Regions from separate parts of the Homo sapiens genome. Here all the other regions are linked to region 1. The links are contacts of gene promoters, found by promoter capture Hi-C in human tissues and cell types (Jung and others, 2019). All regions are on one chromosome and are shown on one strand. The core of a region is centred on a gene start or on the middle of the fragment in contact, and the rest is flanking DNA. Distances in the headings are between cores, read along the strand shown.

Region 1 (4,892 bases), core at 1,361-3,860:
ACAGAATAGTGAGGTAAACAAACAGAATAACCATCATGATAATCTCCACCACTTACTGAATACTTATGACATCCTGCACACACACTATGTTGTTTAATTTCTACAGTCACTCTATGAGTGGGTACCGTATAGACGAGGAAGCTGAACGTAACATCCCCAAGTTACCCTTGCTAGTAAATGATAGAGGCTGAACCCAAACCCAGGTCTTTCTGGAGGCAGAGCCCACCCTCCTGACCATCAAATTGCCCATAGTATCATCTAACATGAAGGCAATGGCTTCAGCCCGCACAGGTGAGGAATTCTGCTTTGAGATGAGCAGGATGGAAGGGTTTTTAATATCCATGGGGATCTGCCAGATAGCCAATGGAAGTGAAGGCACCCTGAAAGAGGAAATAGCATGTGCAAAGCTGTGACATAAAGCAGCCTGAAAGTTCAAGAAACCATGAGTGGTGGTGGGATTGTTGGGTGGTGAGGAAGGAAGTGGTATCAAGGATGGCAAGAGATGGTATTGGGGAGTGGGCAGAGGCCACTGAATCCAACATCTCGCCTGCCCAGCGATGGAGCCTTGGGATTTTCCTGTGGGTGACAGGGAGCCATTGAAGCGTTTAAGGACTGGTCGTGGGGTGAGGGGAGTGTACTGTCATCATTTTTGTAGTCTTTTGCAGAGAAAATTTGGAGGCAGTTTGGAAAACACTCTAGAGCCTGACATGTGAGAGATGAGTTAGGAGGTCACGTGTCCCCACTTTTCTAATTTTGTATCTTCTTCAGCAAAAAAGTCTTTGCCGCCTATTCTGAGCAGATGTATGATTATTCACAAATGATATACAATACAACTGTATTCACACATTGCATGCCTTGAAACATACACAAAATGTAAACACTAAAAACATGACGTAAAAATAGATGTAAGTCTGGGAACTCGATGGAGGTGGTGGCTGCACAGCATTGTGAGTGTACTCAATGCCACAGGATTCCCCATCTTAAAACGGCTCATTTTATGGTATGTGAGTCTTAATTAAATACAAAAACCAGACAAGTGTGGGTAGATAGACATTCAATTCCTTTCTTCTCATCCTTCAGTGAACGGTCTGGTGTGCCCTGGGTGCACGTACCCCTTGGGGATTAGGGCAGTGATGAGAGGCAATGGAGGGAGGGTGTGGCTGTGGAGATGCGGACGGGAAGAAGGATCTGAGGAGTGACTGAAGAGGTAGAATGGGCAGGGCTTGGTGATGGAAGGTTGAAGAGTATTCAGCAAAGAGAAGAACGTGGGAAGCCTCCCCATTTCTGGTTTGGGTATAAGATAAAGAAACGTTTTCTCCTTGCCAGGGACATGAGGCAGACAATACTGGGATAATTTCCCAGGGCTTGGGATAGGACTGGGTGGGGAAGTTTCTAGGTATCCATTCTCAGGATAAGGACGGGCCTGTTTGGATGAGGATAATGGAGGGTCAAACCTGAAGAAGCCAGATTAGCAGAGGCAAAGTGAGAGATCAGAAGGTGGTAAACTCAGAAGGGGGTAGAGACCTGAGGAGCAAGCTGGGACAAGGCAGGAGGGAATTCACAGGCCACATGGTAAGTAATGAGTGGGGTAGAGGACAGAGCAGGGTTTCATTGTGGCGAGTCTGACGGGAGGTGCTGGGGGATGTTCCAGGAGAACAGCAGAAATGTGTGATGCTATGGATGTGGGCTTGGCAAGTTCCATCTGGAGCTGGGAAGAGGCCACCCATGGAGAACAGGAACCATGAGGCGGAGAGTGGAGCTTGCAGGAGGGCGAAAATTAAGACCAAAGAATGGAAGCCTGCCAGTGTGAGAGACCGCCTGACAAAAACCAGGAGAGTATGGAGTCATGGCGGCCCAGGCAGAAGTTCTGGGAGGAAAGAAATGGTCAACACTACAGGGAAGTCAAACACTGCCAGTGGAGACAAATAGGACAGGAACTGAAAAAGCATCCATTAGTGAATCCCTGGTGTCATTAGTGAAAATAATTCCAGGCATGAATGGGGAGAGGGAAGGGTGTCGGGCAGGAAGTCCAGTGCCCGTGGGTTGACTGAATGGGAGATGAGGAGGTAACACCCATCATGTAGGTCATGTAGAGCAGCCTTAGGACATCTGATTCCTTGCCTAAGACTCTTCTTTCCTGGTGTAGCTTTGTTCTAGAAAGGTCTGGAAGACTTGTCACAGTTCCAATGCAGGATGAGCCTTTGGTCCTGATCTCTTGGAGGCCCAGACAGCCTGGGAAACCAGCAGAGCTTTGGACAAGTTAAGCAGCCCATTGAAATCAACATTCTTGATAATCATATATCTAAGAGATTCCAAAATGTTCCTGGGATTCTTTTATGGGTCTGCATAGGGTTAGAAAGCACAGGAGTCAAAGAGACCTTCTCCCTTGGCCTCCAGGGCCACCATCCTCTGCTTTTGTCAGTTGGTCTCCCCAGAGTAGAGTCCAGGTTCCTGCTTCCAGCCTTCTGGTAGACCAGGCCCTGCCACAAGTGAGAGTTGGCCGGTTGGGTATCTGGTTTAGTCACTCGCCTCCACACTTTCACATCCTCTATCAACACCTGCACACTTGGGTTGTGACCACACATGCTCTTCCTGTTTGTACAGAAAGTGCCATTCAGAAAGCTCGCCAGCGAGAAGAGAGCTCCACGCTCAGCCTCAGAAGAAAGACGTTCAACGACTTACTGGGGAGAGAAAGAAAAGGAACGGGAGCTGAGAGGTAAGATCAAACTGGAGGGTGTGCGGGCCCTCTAGGATGCCTTGCCTGGAAGAGAGGTAGCCCCGACTTTGTGTCCTGAAGGGTGGCGCTCTAAGTAGCTGTGCCCATGCTCCGCTGGTCAGGGCAGGGGGAGCATTCTTGGTCAGCCTCACCGAGATGGTCCAGGCCCTGGTGAACAGCCAGAGGGATTGAGAAGGAAGAGATGGGATGTGACCAAAGTTGGTCACTGAAGCCGTCAGTGTGTGTGCGTGTGCATGTGTGTGTGTGTGTGTGGTAGAGGGTGCACATAAAGAAGACATAACCTGAGTGTGAACATGCTCACACACATATTTATGATGCTGGCTGGGGCCTTATGAAAAGTGTGTCTTAACCTCATGTTGCTCATTAGCTATAACCTCAAAAATAGAAACCATGACATGGCCACAGACTGGATCCCAGTCAATGGCCCCAGTGAGTGAGCTTGCAAGGAGAGATCATGGGCAGTTCCACCTAAGGCCACCGTCACTTCTGCAGAAATGACTTGGAATAATGACCTCCTCACTGTTAGGGGCTAACAGCACTATATTTGTATTTCTTGGATGGAACATTGTATATGTGTGTATTTGTGTGTGTGTGTCTGTGTATGTGCATAAACACATCATGTATTTATACACATGACATTGTGTGTATGTGTGTTTATGTGTGTATATATATGTACACACACATATGATATAATGCAATATACACAGTGACCAGATTTTTGAAACCAAAGAGAACTAATAGCAAGACAAAGGGGTTTTTTTCCTAATATGTGATTTCCTTGCTATTCGAGTCTCACATATATAAAAATGAAATATGTCTACACATGTGTTTCATAATTCCTTTTATTCAAAGAGGGGATCATTCAGGTAGCTAAAGGTCAAGTGTTTACAATAACAAAGTGGTGGTAAACTCATTCTTTGAATGTTGATCGTACAAACTAAATAATCCATCAAAAAATGTTGTCTCTGCCATTATTAAAAGCATGTGTTCCTTGGTGCAAAATTTAAGAATGTTCTAACTACAAGAGCACCTTCCTTTACCTAGGGCTATCCCATCTCACTGTTGAAGTGAAGTGATTACAGTGAAAGTAATACAGACATTTAATATTCTTAGTTTTGGTTGTGTTTCTGTCAACTGCTATTCCCTTGTTCTAGGCGTAACTGCACTTAGTGTTTAGTGGTGTTATGCATATGTATATTTGATTTGCATTTAGAAAATAGAAAAATATATACATTGCTTATTTTCCAGATTTCAAGGTTTAAATTCCCACTCTAACATGATGGTTTTAGGCAAGTCACTATACATCTCTGCATCGGAGTTCCCACATCTGTAACACAAGTACAATAGTAGATAGTAATCCCTTCCTCTTAAGAATTAAATAAGCTAATACATGTAAAGTGCTTAGACAAGTGCCTGGAACATTGAAAGGGCTCAGTAAGTATTAGCAGCTGTTATCATTGTCATCATCATCATCATCATCATCACTACCTTTTGTACAATTAAGCCATCAAACTTGAAGGGACATGGTAAGAGTTTGGGAAAGGTGAAAGGTGGGAGGTGGTGTGTGTAAAATGGGTTTGGGGGGTGACACTTAAGGCCAGAGCAGTGACATTACAGTCCTTACACTGTAGCTACAGACAAGTAGTGAGCAGGAAAGAGGAACAGCACAGAACACCCCTCCCTATGAGGCCTGCTTGTGAGAGGAACATGTTCTGGAGCTCTGTGGGCTTGATGACATGTACTCATACACATCTTGTACAGCAAACCAGGAAATAGGCACATGGAACGGTGACATCCAAATGATAGTATATAACATGCATTCAGTGCCTCTCAGGTGTGAGACGTGGTGCTCGGCATTTTACACACATTTTGTTATTGTATCTGAGCCATTGCAATTATGCTTATTTTAGAGGAGAGATTGGTAGGTAGCCTAAGAGTGCAGAGCAGGGAAATAGCAGCGTTGGGATCTGACCATCTCCAGATTCTGTGTCCCAATCCCCCACCCATCACACCCAGAATACAAAGCAAGTAGTAACAAAACGTGACCAGTGAGGACGTCCAGTTTCAGAGAGTTTAAGAAACAAGTTCAAAGTCACAGAGAAAGCTGAAGGCATGGTGAGGAGCTGGATGCTGGTTTCTAAATTCCAACCATTTT
Region 2 (4,892 bases), core at 1,740-4,239, 62 kb before region 1:
CCTTTTCAGCCCCGGGCCAGGCTGTCTGCAGCTAATGGGCAGAGGGAATCCTGGCCTACCAGCCTGCAGGGACATAGCTGAGTGCACCGCCATGGGGCAGGAAGGCAGTCCTGCACAAGACAGCCCCATGAGGGACAGAAGGAGGAAGGCACTGACACCATGGCCCCCTCTTTCCCCCAGTCCAGTCGTTATTGTCAACTCTCTTCTTGGTAACCCCTGGCCCCTCATGTCCTGCTCACAGAGGCTCAGGGGTGGTGAAATTGCCTCAAAGGGTGGTTATTTTATTGAAATAGAATCAGATCATTTTCCATCCAGCATCTTGTTTGTAGAAATATCCTATTAGACACAGAAAGGAAAAGATCAGTATCTTTTACACCATAATTAAAATATCACTTTTCTCAATGAAACATTATCTAGATTATCTCACAAAACAGCATTGCTTACAACATTGCTTACAAGCCTTATAAATGTGAGGCTGCCAGCTAGAACACTATAGAAAATGTTAGTTATTGCACCATCTCCCACAGTTGTTCTTTTGATGTGCTGGCTTGGAATAAACAGACTTATCTTTCCTGTCATACAACACTGTCCTTAATTTAATGGAGATGTTATTAAGATAAAATCTCTATTCAATTCCATATTGTACCATATTAACACACACAATTAGTAATGCTTTATCAGTTATGAAGAAAGATGATGACTGCTTTTAAGCTAAATTACCTTTATCATGGTAGCACATGAAAGAAGCGACAAATATTTATCCGAGTGTATGTTAATTCTTATTTAATTTTAACGCTGCTTTTATCAACCAAATTAACCAATGAATTTTATTAAAGGGAATGTTATAGAAAAGAGCTTCCAACACTCTCTTCCATCTGTTTTTATTTATATAATTTTGATGGTTTCTTTTTCTCTTTCATTTCATTTCTAATTAAGAGGAACACGTGGAAAATTGAACATTTGGGCTTAATTTTAACAGAATTTGGAATAATTAGAAGCATGTTCTTGTTAATATAAAGATTGTGAGTGTTGGGATTGCAGGGCTTACATCTGTGCATTTAAACCCCCTCCCACAAGGCATCTTGCTCAGTAAATCTCAAGAGGTGATGGGGGCATCGTAACATGGAAACATAATCTCACCTTAGTGATTTTACACTTAGGGAAGCCAAGCAATTCCTTTTTACAGTTTTAGAAATGCAAGTAGAATGTGACAGCAAGACGCATCTTACAATTCAGGTTGGAGCATTCTCCTCAGCAATATATAAACCTTGCTTCCCTTGGCCCTGGAATCACCCAGGAACTTGTAATGTGTGATTCTAATTGTGGATGGCACACACAGATGGGAGAGACTGAAATCAAGGAAAGCTCTCCTCCTTGGACTATGACTTTTTTTGACTTAAACTTTCTTGACCTTTTTTTTTCTCCCAAGGTGAGATATCAAGTATAGTAGCAATGTCATTGGGAATGCATACACCCTCAGGTAACAATCTGCAATCAGAAGGGACATACTTATCCTATCTTAGGGCATATTCAAATTTGAATTATGCTAGTTTTGTTTTTTTGTTTTTGAGACAGGGTCTCACTCTGTCACCCAGGCTGGAATGCAGTGGCACAATCATGGTTCACTGGAGCCTTGACCTCCCAGGCACAAGCACTCCTCCTGCCTCAGCCCCTTAAGTAACTGGGACTACAGGCATGCAACCACCATGCCTGGCTAATTTTTAAATTGTTTATAGACATGGAGTCCCGCTATGTTGCCCAGGCTGGTCTAGAACTCCTGGTCTCAAGTGATCCTCCCCCGTCAGCCTCCCAAAGTGCTGCAATTACAGGCGTGAGTTACAGTGCCCCAGCCTGTGCTAGGTTTCTTATTTGCTGTCTGGAAACCTTCAGGGAGACAGAACTTATTCCCACCTTTCATTACTTTTAGGAAGGAAACCACAGTGACTGCGCAACTTGAGAGATGCCTCTAGGTGCAGTCAATGAGCCCTGAAGGCCCTTGGCAATGCTGTGGCACAGCTGGTGTCCCCGCAGCCACTTCACATGTGCCCCACTCTCCAAACATAGAGGCAGCCCAGTTTTGGCTGTCTCAGACACCTCTTCACACTGATCTGACGGCAAGTGTGCAAAACATAAAGACACCATCCCGTGAGCTTGACAGGCCCTCACATCGGCCCAGGCTGACCAGATCTCATACGAAAGGTCACAGCCTTCTGTAAGAGCCATACTCATGAAGATTGCGGTGAAAGTGCATTGTGGTTTAGTTAACAGTGAAAGGAGTGGTTTGCATTTCCTATCATCCATATTTCATGTGCTACGGTTGAAAGCTGCAGAGCAGGACACCTGGAGCCTCCCAGTCTTCATGCTGACACTTACTTGATGCGTGACCTTGAGCAAGTCACTGGTCTCTCTAAGCCTCAGTTCCTTGTCTGTAAAATGGAGCGAATGCCTGTTTAATCTATAAAGTGCAATAAATCACACAAATTCTCCTCACGCTCAGGATCTTTAAAAGCGAGCAAAAACACAAAATTGTTTTTAAATAGTTGAAAATATGACACAGTGCAAACTATCATTATCATTATGTTTTTAATTGAAATCTGAGTCATTTTTTATTTCTTCTAAGCCAAAAAAAAAAAAAAATCTGAACACTTTACTGAAAAATAGATTGGAAAATGTCTGTGGCTGGCTGATAGGAAACTACTTCCAATTCCAGAAATACCAAAAATGGCATCTCTGAAAATCTAGCTCTGGTTTGGATGCACAGGGCATTTGTGATCTCATAAACTTGCAAACAGCCAAGGGGTGTTTTATCAAGTTGGAAACAATAGTTTGAATTTAGTCCATATGTGTCAATCTTCAAGTTGCAACTTGCTAGTCATACTAGTAGTGTCATTATTACCGTTGAGTGATGATAGCCATCTGAAAGCTGGGTTAGAATGGACAGGCTTACAAAATTTTATAGCAGCTCTAAATGACAATCTAATGCATCCAAAGCCTCTCTATCCCCTACCTAAACCAGCACTTCACAGCTATGGAAGACTCATAAAATTCCGAGCCTGGCAATTTATACTTAATCTCTCTAAAGAGCATGTGTTCAGAGCAGCCCCCTACTCTGTGAGATGGCATTTGAGCACCAACACCTCTGCTATATAAAACACCTTATCAGTAGTAAATATATTAATTTGACCCCAAGGGAGAGAAGGTGAGAGCAAATCAGCCGCAGCAAGCCATTTACATTCTTTATTTCTGCAGATGAATTCTCCGTCTATTTTCATCTTGTAATCAGGCACTTGCCAAATACACAAGAATTTCATTTTCTATCTCCACAGCATATGTGTCTCCTTACTTTGATATGTCCTGTTTTTAGGAAGTAGAGATGTTTTAAAATTATATTTCAAACAGGAAAAAAATCAGTCTCCATATAATTAGTGAATGTAACCAGATTATTTGCAATCAACATATACTTAATGCCTTATTACCCTAATGGAAGTTATTGTAAGTGATGATAAAATTGGCAGAAATAAGTTATGCTAAGTGATGATAAAATTGGTATTATTAAGTGATGAAAACCTTTTACCTTCCGCTGTTTTTTTTTCCCCATCTCTAATCTACCCAAATTCATCTTTAATGAGAGAACCTGGAGGACGCATTTATGGCACTTAGGTCAACGAGGAAAACACAGCAGTTTTTACCCACAGCCAGAACACATTTGCCGACCTCCAACCTCAGAGGGCAGAGGCAAGACGGACAGTTGGAAAAGCTCTCAACCTATTATTTGTAAGCTTTATATGTTCTTGCCCATTAGTGCATTCCTCTTTGTTCCTAATCTGTGGTTTTCCTCTTGACCTGTGACTCCCAGTCTTAGTGTCAGAGAAGAAATCAGAAGCAAAATGATTATTCTGAAGGCAGAAGAAAAACAAATAGAAAGTTACGTGCTGGCCAGGTGCGGTGGCTCACACGTGTAATCCTAACACTTTGGGAAGCCGAGGTGAGCAGATCACTTGAGGTCAGGAGTTCAAGACCAGCCTGGCCAACATGGTGAAACCCTGTCTCTACTAAAAATACAAAAAATTAGCTGGGCATGGTGGCATGCACCTGTAATCCCAGCTACTCGGGAGGCTGAGGTATGGGAATCCCTTGAACCTGGGAGGCGGAGGTTGCAGTGAGCCAAGATCGTGCCACTGCACTCCAGCCTGGGGGATAGAGCAAGACTCTATCTCCAAAAAAGTAAAACAAAAGAAAGAAAAAAAAAGAAAGGTATACGCCATATAAATGAGAGAGGTCCTTGGAGCTGGGAGGGTGGGCTTCTTAGCCCCGGTGCTAGGAACTAAGAATGAGTAACAACTGAAAAATCCCTCTCTTTAGCGGGTAGCAGGTCACCCGCTCGCACTTGACTGATAGTTGTGGGACACCTTGGCTCTCTTTAGGAACACGTCTTTGATAACCTGAAGGAGAAAAAAAAATAAACATGGATTTCTAAGTTGGCTATAACTGACTCCAGCTTTCCTGCTAAAAGCTCTAATGATATCTTCATGTCAGTGTGAGTGAGGTTGATGAAGCAGATGGGAACCTGTTTTCAGGGGTGAATGAATAGCAAATCGCTGGAGAAGAGCATGGTTGGCCTGCAGTTCCTAGGTCATAATGCTCTCGAAAGAAACAAAGGCGTGTATTTCCATTCCTTTCTCCCCAGCCCCACCCCCAGGATATAAGCTCTGTGCAGATGGGCACTTTGGCTTGTCCGTTCAACCACTTTCTCCTCAGCACCTAGGACAGGGCCTGAAGGAGCTCCGCACATGCTTGGATGAGGCACACGTGATGTGATGATGACCATCACCCAGGTTTGAAAAGAGGAACTGAAGGAATTAATGATCCCTTACTTGCAAACCTTCTCATCT
Region 3 (4,892 bases), core at 839-3,338, 45 kb before region 1:
CTCAGGAAAGTCAGACTGGATGCAAAGAAGTTTAAGCAATGCCTGAAATGATTAATTTCACTTATATTTTCATTTTTACACAATTGCAAGAGTGCTATGTGATAAAAATCTATGTCCAATTAGGACGGCTATTATTTTAAAATGGCAAATTGTAAGTACTGGCAAGGGTGTGGGGAAAGGGGGACCCCCTGCACTATGGGTGGGAATGTAAAATGGGGCAGCCAGTGTGGAAAACAGTAGGGAAGTTCCTCAGAAAATGAAATATAGAATTACATGATCCAGCAATTCCACTTCTGGCTATATACCAAAGTAACTGAAGGCAAGGATTCAAACAGATATTTGCGCACCCATGTTCGTAGCGGTATTATTCACACTAGCCAGAAGCAGCCTGAGTGCCCATCCATGGATGAATGGACAACAAAATGTGCATATACACAATGGAATATTATTATTCTGCCTTAAAATGGAAGGAAGCGCTGACATGGGCTACAATGTGGAAGAGCCTCGAAGACATTATGCTAAACAAAATCAGCAACTCACAAAAGGACCACTACTGTATGATTCCACTTACATGAGGTACCTGGAATAGTCAAATCCATAGAGACACAAAATAGAGTAGTGGGTAATAGGGGCTCAGAGGAGGAGTTACTGGGGAATTGTTTAATGGGTACAGAATTTCAGTTTGAAAAGACAGAAAAGTTCTAGAGATAAAGCGTGATGGTTGCATAACAATGTAAATGTACTTAATGCCACTTAACTCTGCACTTAGAAAATGGTTGAAGGTTGGGGGTAGTGACTCATGCCTGTAATCCCAGCACTTTGGGAGGCCAAGGTGGGAGGATTGCTTGAGCCCAGGAGCTTGACAGCAACCCTGGCAACACAGTGAGACCCTGTCTGTACAAAAATAAATTTTTAAAAATTAGCCAGGCATGGTGGTGCGTGTTTGTGGTCCCAACTACTTAAGAGGCTAAGGTGGGAGGAACACTTGAGCCTGGGAGTTCAAGGCTATCGTGAGCCATGATCACACCATTGCATGCCAGCCTGGGTGACAGAGAGACCCCCTCCCTCCCAAAAAAAGGTTGGAATGGTGAATTTTATGGATATGTAACTCCAGTTTAACAAATCTATCTTATTAAACCTATATTAGCTCTATTACTAAGTATAAAATTATAATTGAAGTGATAAGAAAGCATTTTGCTACATTTAATTTACAGCGTTTTTTTTCCTTGGTGGTAACTAAATTATGGGGCATCTTTCAGACATTGGCGTCCTAGATTTGTGAAATATGGCCATATGCCTTCTTTCTTTCACCCTCTCCCTCTGTATAAAAAAGGTCCTCGTGAGAGTTTCCCCTTTGGAAAGGGAAACTTGTGCCCTGCAACTTCACTTCTGATCAATTATAGGGTTTACTTCACACCCAGCACGAATCTAAGAGCTGGGATTAGAGACCTAATTCCCAACTTCAGTGAGTATATGGCTTCTTGGTCAGGTAAAAATAATGCAAAATGCTTAGGGGTGGAATTGTAAGTTCCGGGCCAGGAATCTGAAGAGGAATATTCTAGTCTAAACTGCACCTGGCAAGTCACCTTGCTTCTCTGGGCCTCATCTGCAAAATGAGATGTTTAAATTAAACTTCTGAGGCCCCTTAACACTTTTCTGCATCCATGAAGATAATTAGACAACATATAATCAAAGTGAAGCATCAACAAATAGAGCAGAGACAGTGCTTATGTGCCCATCAAATGTGTCCCTTTTCTTCCTGGGCCGATAACTTCACTACATTACAGTGCCTCTGGCAGAGAGGCAGGACCAGCTGCCTGAGTTCTGGCCAAAAGAACATGGTGAGAAATTACACCTGCCACCCTCAGACCTGGCCTCTGGAACATTCCAAGGAGATCCTCCACTCTCCATCCTTCTTTGGTACCCTAGGAGGTCACAGGTTGAAGATGCTTCTGCCACAATGGAAGGGACTTGGTTCCAGTGCCCAACCCACATGGACTGTGACATGAGCAAGAATTACGTTGTCATTCCTTTAAGCCACTCAGATTTTGTTTGTTGTTTGTTTTTAATAACTAGCATACCCTGAATGAAACAAAAAGCAAAGTATGAGTTTAATAAGAGTTCTGGTCATGCGTGGTGGCTCATGTCTGTAACCCCAGCATTTTGGGAGGCTGAGGTGGGTGGATCACCTGAGGTCAGGAGTTCAAGACCAGCCTGGCCAACATGATGAAACCCTGTCTCCACTAGAAAATACAAAAAATTAGCCAGGTGTGGTGGCGCATGCCTGTAGTCCCAGCTACTCATGAGGCTGAGGCAGGAGAATCGCTTGAACCCAGTAGGCAGAGGTTGCAGTGAGCCCGGATCACACCAATGCACTCTAGCCTGGGCGAAAGAGCATGACTCTGTCTCAAAAAATAAAAAGTAAAAATAAGAGTTCTTCAGATGTAGGAAAGGTCAGAGGGGAGGTCATTGACACAAGTCCTAAAGGTACAAACAAAATGGAAAAGGGAGATGTTCGGCCCTGGCAGAAGCAGAAACACTCAGAATGTGGATATTTGGCTTTGGTTTGTTCTGAGAGCTGGAGACGAATGTTTGATGTTATAATCCACCTCCATGCCCAACTCCCTTTGCCCACCTGCCCCCACACATATCCAGAGATTCTCCATCATCCAACAGTATCACTGGAAAAAATCTTCAAAATGACTCTGGATGGATCCAGTAATATGGAAACAAAATATGCCTGACCATAAAGAAAACAAGGCACTGTGGAGCCTAAGTAGATGAACCGTGCGTGTGCTGAGCATTCCCGCGAGATCCCCTGAGATCCACCTCCAATAATAGAAGCCAGCAAACCCAAACCAAGAAGAGGAGCGAAGCAGCAACTGGACAGGGGTGGACGAAATCCCAAAGGTGGAGCTTGCTAGGGTCCTCCCAGGCAGGAGGCCAGGATGAACTCTAAGACCCCCACTGTGCAGGTAACAGGCAGCATGGGGGCTATCAAGGAGGAGCCCCCTCCAGAAGTCCTTCGGGGAAGACCCACAAGCCCCAAGTTGCATCACTGCGTTCATCACAGAACACCAGGGGAGGTGTGGGGAGGGAGGATGGAGACAAGGGGGAAAAGCAAGTTGGGAGAGGGAAAGAGGTGGGGAGGAAGGAAGAGAGGAATGAAGGGAGGAAAGAAGGACGGAGGGCAGGTGAGGGGGCAGGCTATAAAAATAGACGTAACTTCAAGGGAAGCTTGCTAAGGATCTTAAATAAAAGGCAAAACCTTCCTAAATGGTTCAGGACCAAATATCCAAGAGGTCAGTTGACCCCTTCTCCATGACTAATTGATCTCCTTACATAAATAAGAAGGGTCAACATTTAGCCAGAAAGCAAAACAAGGGTTGTTTCATTTACCTACATCCAAGCCTCTGAATTCCTGCAGCTTCCAGGAGGGATTTCAGCCATTTAAACAAGACTTTGCAAGCACTTTATTGTAACTGCAAACTCAGAGACAAAGATGAGAATTACGCACGTGTGAACAATGATTGCCCTTGGCCAGGAGACGAAAATGGGCTGGGGCAGTAGATTGGAGCCAGGCTGCAAGACAAGGATGGCAAACAGATCTCAAGTGGGCTCCCACCCCAGGGCCTTTGCACTTGCTGTCCCCTGCCCCGAAGGCTCTCCCCCTGGATGTTTGCAGGGCTGGTTCCCTCACTTCGATCAGTTCTCTATTCAAATACCATCTCTTAGAAGGCCTTTTTTGACTCCCATTAGCAAAATGACTCCCCAGGAAACTTCATCTCCTTAACCTGCTTTAGTTTTTCTTCATGATGTTATTTTCCCTATCTGACGCCCAATTGTATACCTGCTTGTCTGTCTCCTATGAGGGCATGTGCTTTTCTGTGTTTTCTGCTTTGTCTTTAAGGCCCAGAAGCGTGCTTGGAGCATAGGAGCCACAAATAGTTACTTGCTGAGCAATCTTCCTTGCTAACTCATGCTTGTAGCTAGTGGCCATTTGATGGCTGCTTTGAGAAAGATTTGGGAGAATCAGAGTGTGGTCATCAATGACCGACATCCTCCTCAGCCTTTGGGAGGCAGAGCTACACTGCCTGGTAGGCTGGCAACACTGCTGCCTGGTAGAGGGGTTGAAATGGTACTGAATTGGGGCTTCACTAATATGGTAGCCAATGAGTTAGCACTATAGGTGTAGAGGTGGGAGGAGTATCATAATGAAAATGTGGCAGGGTAAGAGATTTCCCCTGGCAAGGTATACAGCTTCTGGTAGAATGGTCCTGATGTGGGATAAGCCTGGAGCTGGCAGATGCTGTGGGAAGCAGCCCAGGTCAGGGGCTGTGAGGCCCTTGGCAGAGAGAGTGCCTTGAGCAGGCTGCACTGGATGGTGAGCCTTGTTTGAGATCTCACCCCTCAGGAGGCAGGGCTTGTTTGAGATATTGCCCAGGGTTAAAGGAAGGACAATTGAGATGAGGAGGGACCAATCTGTCCACTGCCACCACCCCCACCCCCACCTCAGCATCCCAGCATCCTCGCATTACCCACAGCTGTCGCCTCCTTCCCAGTTCAAAGCAGAATTGAGAAGAGTCCATGAAAGAAGAGTCAGCAGTGAATAAGTAAGCCCACAAGTTAATATGTCATTAGGCAATATCCTTTAAACACTCTAAATTTGGACCTGTGACACAATTTCTCTTGATTCACGAAGCAAAACTTGACAGAAAGGAAACCTCCTTCCCCTTTTAAGCTTGAGGAGTCTGCCAGGCCAGACAACACCCAGAATCTTCTCCATCATATTTTTAATCATAAGTTGATTGTGAGCTCTTAAGCAATGTCCTCAGTGCCATGCCAGGGCCCAGCACAATAGTGCTGGCTTCCCAGGGCTGAAACACCTTCCA

Evidence for each region. Contacts are between HindIII fragments. The study calls those that stand out against the background at their distance.
Region 2: a contact is called between a fragment that was not itself captured here and the fragment with the promoter of AFF3 in region 1, in 2 of the 25 tissues and cell types used here (mesenchymal stem cells and neural progenitor cells).
Region 3: a fragment that was not itself captured here is called in contact with the fragment with the promoter of AFF3 in region 1 in 1 of the 25 tissues and cell types used here (mesenchymal stem cells).

The regions. Positions count from the first base shown.
Region 1 is chr2:100,140,308-100,145,199 of GRCh38, reverse strand. It overlaps AFF3 (ALF transcription elongation factor 3), which reads left to right and starts at 2,610. Exons shown (of 25, transcript NM_001386135.1): 1 at 2,610-2,716. The HindIII fragment of the contact is 13,656 bases long and covers 1-4,892 here.
Region 2 is chr2:100,202,659-100,207,550 of GRCh38, reverse strand. No RefSeq gene overlaps it. Among named protein-coding and RNA genes, the nearest start is that of LINC01104, 3.1 kb to the left of the region's middle. The HindIII fragment of the contact is 6,322 bases long and covers 1-4,892 here.
Region 3 is chr2:100,184,418-100,189,309 of GRCh38, reverse strand. No RefSeq gene overlaps it. Among named protein-coding and RNA genes, the nearest start is that of LINC01104, 21 kb to the left of the region's middle. The HindIII fragment of the contact is 3,802 bases long and covers 188-3,989 here.